Regions from separate parts of the Homo sapiens genome. Here all the other regions are linked to region 2. The links are contacts of gene promoters, found by promoter capture Hi-C in blood cells and fetal thymus (Javierre and others, 2016). All regions are on one chromosome and are shown on one strand. Each heading gives the region's core, a stretch centred on a gene start or on the middle of the fragment in contact. The rest is flanking DNA. Distances are from core to core; before and after follow the strand shown.

What was found. Contacts are between HindIII fragments. The CHiCAGO score rates a contact against its expected background, and 5 or more counts as called.
Region 1: a contact is called between a fragment that was not itself captured here and the fragment with the promoter of ZFPM2 in region 2, in 1 of 17 cell types (megakaryocytes). The highest score is 6.1, in megakaryocytes.
Region 3: a contact is called between a fragment that was not itself captured here and the fragment with the promoter of ZFPM2 in region 2, in 1 of 17 cell types (endothelial precursors). The highest score is 5.9, in endothelial precursors.

Annotation. Positions count from the first base shown.
Region 1 is chr8:105,636,999-105,639,948 of GRCh38, forward strand. The region is part of intron 5 of ZFPM2 (zinc finger protein, FOG family member 2); the gene reads left to right. Among named protein-coding and RNA genes, the nearest start is that of ZFPM2, 320 kb to the left of the region's middle. The HindIII fragment of the contact is 3,099 bases long and covers 86-2,950 here.
Region 2 is chr8:105,317,177-105,319,876 of GRCh38, forward strand. ZFPM2 (zinc finger protein, FOG family member 2) reads left to right here and starts at 1,262. Exons shown (of 8, transcript NM_012082.4): 1 at 1,262-1,805. The coding sequence starts at 1,766. The HindIII fragment of the contact is 6,875 bases long and covers 1-2,700 here.
Region 3 is chr8:105,720,163-105,723,207 of GRCh38, forward strand. The region is part of intron 5 of ZFPM2 (zinc finger protein, FOG family member 2); the gene reads left to right. Among named protein-coding and RNA genes, the nearest start is that of ZFPM2-AS1, 340 kb to the right of the region's middle. The HindIII fragment of the contact is 1,418 bases long and covers 609-2,026 here.

The sequences.
Region 1 (2,950 bases), core at 385-2,884, 320 kb after region 2:
AATAAGTGATTGAGTGGGATCAAGCATACATTTGTCCAACTTAGGGTTGGAGTGATACATACTAGAATATGTTCTGTCTGCATTAAGCTTCAAAACAACTCAATGAAATAGATAGTATTTTCTCATTTTACACCTATGACTTAGAGAGGTGGCATGATTGCCTGTGATCATAGAGAGCTAACAATAGAGCTAAATTCAATCTACGTCTTGACAGCTCCAAATTTTGTGCTCCTTGAACTACATGACTCTGCCTTTCCCTTTGCCACTGTTAAATGATGAGTAACAATCAAAACCACTCGGGCTTTTATCCCTAGAAATCACAAAATATATATATTAAAGTGTGGCATTTCCCAAAATGTATTTCATGGAACCCTAAGATTAAAGAAAAAGCCCCATGACCAAATATCATTTATCGTAGCCCTCTTGAAAACTCACAATGGATGCTGCTATTAATGATCTAGAATTATGCAGTAAAAAACAAAAGCAAAAAACCCTGATCATTTGCATTTCAACATATATTTTTATTTCTCTACTTTGCTCCAGACTCTTCTTTGATCTTCTACCTGGGGTTCAGAGGCCTGGAACTAATTTCTAGTATTTAGAGTGCCTTTAGAGGGAGGAGACAGCTCACCCAGAGCATGTCCCAAAGTTGTGTCAATACCTTAATATTCTGGGATTTTACTAGGGATTGTTTGGATCATGGAAAATATGATCCCGGGAGGCACTCCTACTCGTATCCAAACACACTGGACTCAGGAGTCGTCTGTCTCCACAATCTGTATGTATGATAAGACTCCTCAAAGCAAAAGCGTTTTGAAGATGGAAGGGTTAACAAGTGTTAACTTGAAACTCCACAATGTTTGTGGCATTTTCGTAATGCCTATATTATTTATTAATTGGGCCTCTTTTGTTTTCAAGTGGTGGAATTCTAACTGAAATTAGCTTCTGCCAAAAAATTGTGTGTGTGTGTGTGTTTTGGGGTAGATGGGTTCATCTGCTCATATAACTGAGAGTCCAGGGATATTCTGGATGTCAGGAACTGCTTGATTCAGTTGCTCAAACTTTGTCCCCAAACTCTCTCTCTCTATCGTCTGGCTCTTCTTTCTTGTGTGGGCATCATTCTCAGATAAGTAGTGGCAAGCTCCAGACTTATTCCACCAGCATAGCAACTTCGGTGAAAAGAGAGCTTTTCTGGGTTTTGTGATTAGAGCACATCACATACCATTCCCTGAACCAATTAATCACTATGACTCTCCTAGGCAGGCCATAGTCAGCCTGGGGCCTAAAAGTAAAATTAACCCTGCATGAGCCACTGAAATGGAGGAGAGGTAGTTCCCTAAATAAAACCAAGGATATGCTGCCACAAAAGAGTGGTTGCTTGTTGGGCCAACATCCATGCTCCCAGGTATCACATATTATTTCCTAAAGTCTAAAAAGCTCTCATGGACGATGAAAATTAAATTCCTGATGCCACAATTGTATTTATTTGTTTGTTTTCCTAAAAACCTAAACTACTTATAAACTCAATGCCAAATCATTATTATAGGACCTGGCTATCTGAGAACATATCAGTATCTGTTTACAAATAGAAGATAAATTGCAGATGTGTGACATTTTGCAAAAATGCCTTGACTGAGATTTTTGATAGTGTTTTCTTATGGTGTGAAAATAGGCCCATTTAATGTTTAACTATTACCATCTAGGAGGCATGCTTGCTTCCTAAAGTGTTCCTAAATGTAGGCTAGTAACAAAATTAAATATGACTATAAATCTCTCCTTGTCAGCGTGTCCATCAAATAATTATTATAAAATAAAATTGTATTATATCACTTAGTGCTTTTTGACAGGTTGCCATCATCTTGTTTTATAAAAATTTTTAAAAGTATAGTAGTTGGCATTAACATTCGAATCTGATGTACATTGTTCCTGCCTCACCTACCCCTTGTCATTCCAGAAAGTAATTAGGTCATCCAGACATTGATGGACCAGACCTGTTGGGTCGTCTGTTTTTTGCCATTATTCTCAACAGACTCCAGATAATTCTAATTTACTTATCTCTATGGATAAATACTAAAAAGCATAATGCTGAAGTTAAAAGGAGCTCTGCTGGAGAGTAGGGTGAGCAAAGGCCTGCCCACTTACTCCTAAAATCCACTGTCTGTTGAGCACTGATGATCTACTTCTTTACCTTACCTTCTTATATGCTATCTACCGTTTGCAAAGTATGGTGACCTTTTCATATGAAAAACAAATAGTGTACTTAGAATTTTACGTTTTGAGGATATTTAAAATTACACCTTTAGCATCTTTCATGTGGGTTTAATCACTCAGCTTCAAATCGGGAATAATTACATTATTTAGTTTTTCAATTTTCTTGTAGTTGTTATTTCAAAGTAGCCACATTCTCTAGGTCTCCAGATTAAGAGAATAAACACTGTCAATCAAGAGAGTGAAAAAGTATCTGCTAACCCTCACTCTCACCTCAACAACATAATATTTCTTTATATGCGAAGCCACAATATTATTATAAAAATCTATATTTCATGTGTAACCTTAGACAAATCACTTGCCCACTCTAATCTTGATTTTCTCAGCTGTGAAAATGGAATAGCAATGGCTACCATGCAGGATTTTTGTGAAGCACCCATTTACATGATTGCAGAGGTTATGATCAATATTATGTTGCTGATTATCATACAAGCAGTCCTTGTGGTCATAAGTCAGTACACACTGAGAGAAAATGAAGCCAGGCCTCCATGTTGGTATCAAGCATATAGTGATATCGTATTTATAGCGAAGACTTCTACAAGTCTTATTCAGTCACTTTGAACCCACAGAATATTTGCAGAGATCTGTGTCACAGAATTAGAGACCTGAAGCCTGTCTGGGAGCATATCATTGGATTTTTTTCTTGGGCACGTGATACTTTTATTTTAGTGAAAGTCTTATA
Region 2 (2,700 bases), core at 12-2,511:
GAACTGCAGTGGAGTTTATTAGTAAATACTGATTACATAAAGCAGCTAGTCCCACTGCACTTGGATAGAAGCTCCTTCCAACCCACATGGGAGAATATATTTAATACTTACCGTATATGAAACTGTAAGAAAATAAGCTAACCTCATACAGTTTAACTTGGCCAAAATAATAACTATGCAAATCACCTCAAAATTTGTTCTCCTTTTGGCTTGCAGTTGCCGATATACTACACATACAGTAATTGAATAAGAATAAAACAAAATTTTAGAAGCTAAAGAACCATTAAATAGTTACTGGGTCTTACCCGCTTGGGAAATTACAGCAAGATCAAATCTTTTATTAGTCGATCGGTGCTTCCCTGTGGCAGAAGACTAAGAGAATAGAAAGGTCACGGGGCAGGGTGGGACTACAGAACTTCCCCAGACTTTCCCAAAAAGTTAGTATTTTTATTAGAGATGGTTCGTTTTCCACTTACGGCTAATCAGCTAGCTAACGCTCGCTCCTCCTTTTCAAGATGAGAAAAATATCTGCTTGTCTCCAAATTTGAATATTTTACAATTTAAAATGGAAACTGTGGGTGACAGAACACGTTGAGGATCCGACTCAGCACCTCATCCACGTGGGCCCAGAGCGGGACGGTCCGTGTCCGCAGCGGTCTCCTGGGAGCCTTGAGAGCAAAGAAATGGTCTTCTGAGAGCCTGGGCAGATGAGCGGACTTAACTGGCCCCAAGACACACAGTTGGCATTTGTGATCATCTGGCTCTCGCCGAGGACTTTGCCAGTGGCCTAACCTTCCTGCCAAGAAGCTGGGAGGGCGGGGGTTGGGGGTGAGGGGAGGGGGCGGCATAACTGAAAGCACAAAGTTTAGGGAGAGACTGAGATTTCTTTGTGCCCCGCTGGACTGGCGAGGCGTGAGAGAGGAGAGTTGGGGTCCCTCAGAGAGGGCCGTTGGAAGAAGTTGCCTGGAAGGAGGTGGGGCGGGGTGCCCTGGCAGCTGCCCAGCGTTGACGCGGTGACAACTGCAGAAGGTGGCCCTCCTCCAAGCCGTCCCCACGCCTCCCCTCCAACTCCCACCCACCCCTGCCCCCATCCCCCACCACCGCCTGGATCCCCCGCACTTCGCCCGACCAAGGCCGGGGCCGTAGTTTGCATCCGGACTGGATTTGGATGCAGCCAATCCTCCTTTGGCTGATGGAATAGTCTCCCCTCCCCACAGCCCCGGCGCGCCCCTCCCTCGCGCGCCTCGCCGCCTCCCGCCGCAGAACAGGAGCTGCGCGGCCCGGAGCGGCGGCGGCGGCGCCGGAGTATCCGTCCCGCACGCCGGGGCGAGGGGCGAGCGAGCGCGCTCCTCCTCCCGCGCCCTGCGCCCCCGCGCTCCCCCTCTCCTCGCTGCTCGCTCTCCCGTCCCTCCCTCCTTCTCTTCCTTCTTTCCGTGTTATTTTTCTCTTCTCTTTCCCCTTTTCTCTCTCCCTGACCGTTCGCTTGTACATTCCCATTCTCCCCCCGTCGCTCTCCTCTCCCCCTCCCCTCCTCACTGTCACACTCTCTGTGCCCCCGTCTCTCTTCTCTCATTTGCTTGCTCATCTCCGAACGTGAATCCGCGGCTCCCGGAGGAGCCCAGCGCCCGGAGCACCTGGAGTCCGGCCGGCGGCGGGCCGAGCCTGGCCAGCGGCGGCGGCGGCGGCGGCGGCGGCGGGAGCCGAGGGAGCGGCAGCCGCGACCGCGGGCACCGCGGGAGCCCCAGCGGCAGCAGCCGCCGCCGAGATGTCCCGGCGAAAGCAAAGCAAACCCCGGCAGATCAAACGTAAGTTTGCGCGCGGGGCCGGGAGTTGGTGGGATTATTGCCCAGGAGCGGGGTGCGCGGGACGGGAAAGCGGTGGGTGGGTGGCGGGGCTAGGGGAGATCCGCTCCCGGTCCCCTAGATGTCTCAAACTTTGCCTGAGCAGTCGAAGGGACAACTAGACAGTCATAGACAGACAGACGGCCAGCCCGAGCCTCGGGCAGGAGAGAGGCTGCGAGGAGCAGCCCATGCTTGCCCCGCTCAGCCCTCGCGCTCCCGGGCTGCTTTTTTAATTCCGACCCGCGCACGCTGCGAGTCCCCGGCGCTGTCGTCCAGCCGGAGGGGCAGTCCCGCTCCTTTAGACGCTTATTATTGTTGTTGTCATTGCTTTGTGCGATTGACGTGGGACTACTCTTGGGAACCACTTTTAGTAACCAGGGTAGAAACTTCTCAGAAAAGCTGGGCGGTCGAGACCTCGGGGCGAGGGAGGTAACTTCCCCACGCGGTGGAAAATCAGAGCGTCAGGGTCCCGATCCTGGGCGGTGCCAGAGCCACACCAAACCCGAAGCGAAACAAAAAGTAGGTGTAAAAGTTCGCGCCTCTGCGGCGGGCGGCCGTGCGTCTCTGCCCTGCGGGCGCGGGCTGGTGGCTGGCAGGTCGTGTCCTGGGACTTCGGGCGGGTCCGGCTCACGCCGCCAGGACGCTCAGCCGAGCGGGGATTCGGGTGGTGTCTGGCCCTGGTGGCGCGCGGAGTCCTCCCTGGGAGGGGCCGCCAGTCACTTCCCAGCGCGGAAGCTGTGAGTTCAAGGCGGTGGGCGCGCAGGGGAGTGCATGGCCCTGAGCCCCCGGGTGCCCGGGGGTCCCGATGGTGCTTAGAGGACACGGCGGGTCAAGAGACACCTTCCGAAACAGGCACGCT
Region 3 (3,045 bases), core at 68-2,567, 400 kb after region 2:
AGGGATGCAAATGAACAGAAATAGTTGTATAAATAATGCAATTTATTATTCATACGATTCTGCTCATGTCCTTATGAGCTGCCCTGCACTCCTCCCACCCACCTGATCCTGCTGTATCAATGTCCTTCTCCAACATTTTCCAGGTTTTACATATTTCACAAAACTTTGATTCAAGTTTCCAGTAAATGAATGTTGAAATATGATGAATTCCCTTGCTATCTAAAGTTTAATCATAAGTTTAAAGAGTTTTCAGTCATTATTAATTCTTAGTGTTCACTACTAATTTATGATTAATTTACTACTAATTTACCACTATTAATTACTAATAATCTCTAGGTTACCTTGTATTGTGCATGTGCCTCCAGTATATTTGTATCAAAACCTTAGAGCTGCAGATTTAGCTCAATCATTTCATGAAAAATATCTGCCACATCACCTAATTGGAAAAGAACATCTCTGTCGTGCCAATCAGCCAGATCACTCCTAGCTGTCAGGAAAAACTCTGACTTCATTTTCCAATTCAAATAAGCATGTAAATTCAGGTCCCCGAGACAATCATCTCACTTCTGAATTCTTATCCTAAAATAGATATATAGATAAGGCACAGAAGCTTACCAATAGCTCTATCACCTGGATGAAATAAACCTCAGCTCACTTCCACATTTCGGATGGGCTCTGAAAGGACTCCCACTTGGGAGAGGAGATGCATCCTAGAACAGTCCCATTGTTTTGGCATCCACCTTGCTGCATCTGTAAAAGTAGGGTCTTGGGCCTTTCGTTGTGTAAATGAAAAAGCCTTTTGTGGAAGAGAAAGTCGAAAAAACTAGTAAGAACGACTGCATTGTAAAAACCTAGAAAATCATTCCTTTTTAGCGACCCATGCAGGCAAAACCCTGAACGTCTTCATTTATAGTTGTCCCTCTGTAGACATAGGGGACTGGTTCCAGGACCACTGAAGATACCAAAATCCATGCATACTCCAGTTCTGCAGTCAGCCCTGCAGATCCCACAGATGGGAAATGTCAGCCCTACGTATAGACAAATTTCACATCCAGTGAATACTGTGTTTTCCGTCTGCCTTTGGTTGAAAAAAATCGTGTTTAAGTGGATCTGCAAACCCATGTTCAAGGGGCAACTGTACTTTCCACTGTTCACATATCCCAGTTATAGATAACTGCCCCAAGGCACAGCACATGATGCAAATTTGGCAGTCAGTATGTGTTGAATGAATGAATTTCATCATGATTCATGTAGCCTTCCATATTTATAATTCCACAAAAACAGAAAGTTTATCTTTTTCTCACAGCTTTTCTATGTAATGACAACAGATTATATTAATATCAAATCACTTTTTTTAAAAAAAGTAATATATGTTCATTGGAGCAATTTGAAAATAGGAAAAAGTATAAAATACTGCTTTGAATTCCCATTGTTGCCAGGTTACAGTTTTTTTGCATTCACACTGTATTTAGGTCACTATTGGTTTTCACTCTATTTTTTGAAAAATAAAATGTAAAATAGACACAATATTCTCTTGTTCTTACCTTCATCAGGCCTTCTATCCATGAATATTGAATTATCAGCTAGATAGTAACTCTTAAGTAATTTTCTCAGAAAGAATATACGAGAACATGTGTTGAAACCTATTCATCTCTTGCCATCTCACATGAAATGAGGCATGGCTGGTTGCACTATCAAGTATGGTAGCCACTTGCCACTTGTGGCTATGGAGCACTTGAAATGTGACTTGTCTGTATTGGAGATATGTAGCAAATGTAAAATACACACCACATTTCAAAGACTTAATACTATATATAGGTATAATTAAAATTTTAACATCAGTTATAAATTGGTAATGTTTTTGATATGGTAGATTAAATATATTATTAAAATAATTTTACCTTTTTCCTTTTTATGTAGTTATTAATTTTTTAAAATTATATATATGGCTAATATTATATTAATGGACAGCTTTGGTCCAGATGTTACCAGATTTTTGCAACACAAAGGCCTTGTACCCCTCTGAAGCTTCTTTTTCTTTCTTCCTTCCCCACCCTGCTTCCTGCTTATAAAGAATAACTTAATTCTTTCATACCAATATATTTTCTAGACTAGGTCAAGCTCCTTTGTTTGTTGGACCATGGGAGATTCTTTGGATCTTTGTTTCTATTGTCAATTTATTTTTCGATTATTCCAATTTCTTCCTTGGTTATGACTATAATTGACCTTTGAACACCTGGATAAGGGTTGCCAATCCCCACCCCCATGCATTTGAAACTCCACATATAACTTCTGTGTCCCTAAAAACTTAACTACTGATAACCTACTATTGACCAAAAACCTGACCAATGACATAAATAATTGATTAACACATATTTTGTATGTTATGTTTATTATACTATATTCTTACAGTAAGGTAAGCCAAAGAAAAGAAAATGTCAAGAAAATCATAATGAAGAGGAAATACACTTGCTATTCATTTAGTGGAAGTGGGTCATCATAAAGGGCTTCATCCTTGCTGTCCTCACATTGAATAGTGTGAGGAGAAGGAGGAAGATGAGGGGGTGGTCTTGCTGTCTCAGAGGTGGCAGAGGCAGAAGAGGTGGAGGTGAAATGGGAGGCAGGAGAGGCAGGCACACTGGGTGTATCTTTATGGAAATACACTGTAATTTCGGTCTGACTCTGCTCTCTCATTTCTCTAAAAATGTTTCTGTATTATACCAATCCTTCTTCCACTTTTTGTTTTAGTTTCAGTGCCAGTATCATATGAGTCCATGTTGACAAGAAACCAAAGTGGTCTTGAATAATCGGAATCCTTCTGCCAGATTATCTAATGTTAATCTGTTTTCTGGCACATCTTCTTCCTCATCGTCTGGCATTGGCTCAGAAACACTGATCTCCATCAACTTATCATCTGTTCATTCCTCTGGTGTGGTGTCTATTCGTTCTTGAATTTCTCCAAGATCCATATCATAAAAATTTCATCCCCCACCCATTTTTTTTTCTGTATTCACAGTCTCTTTCATGATATTCTTGATTGGCTCT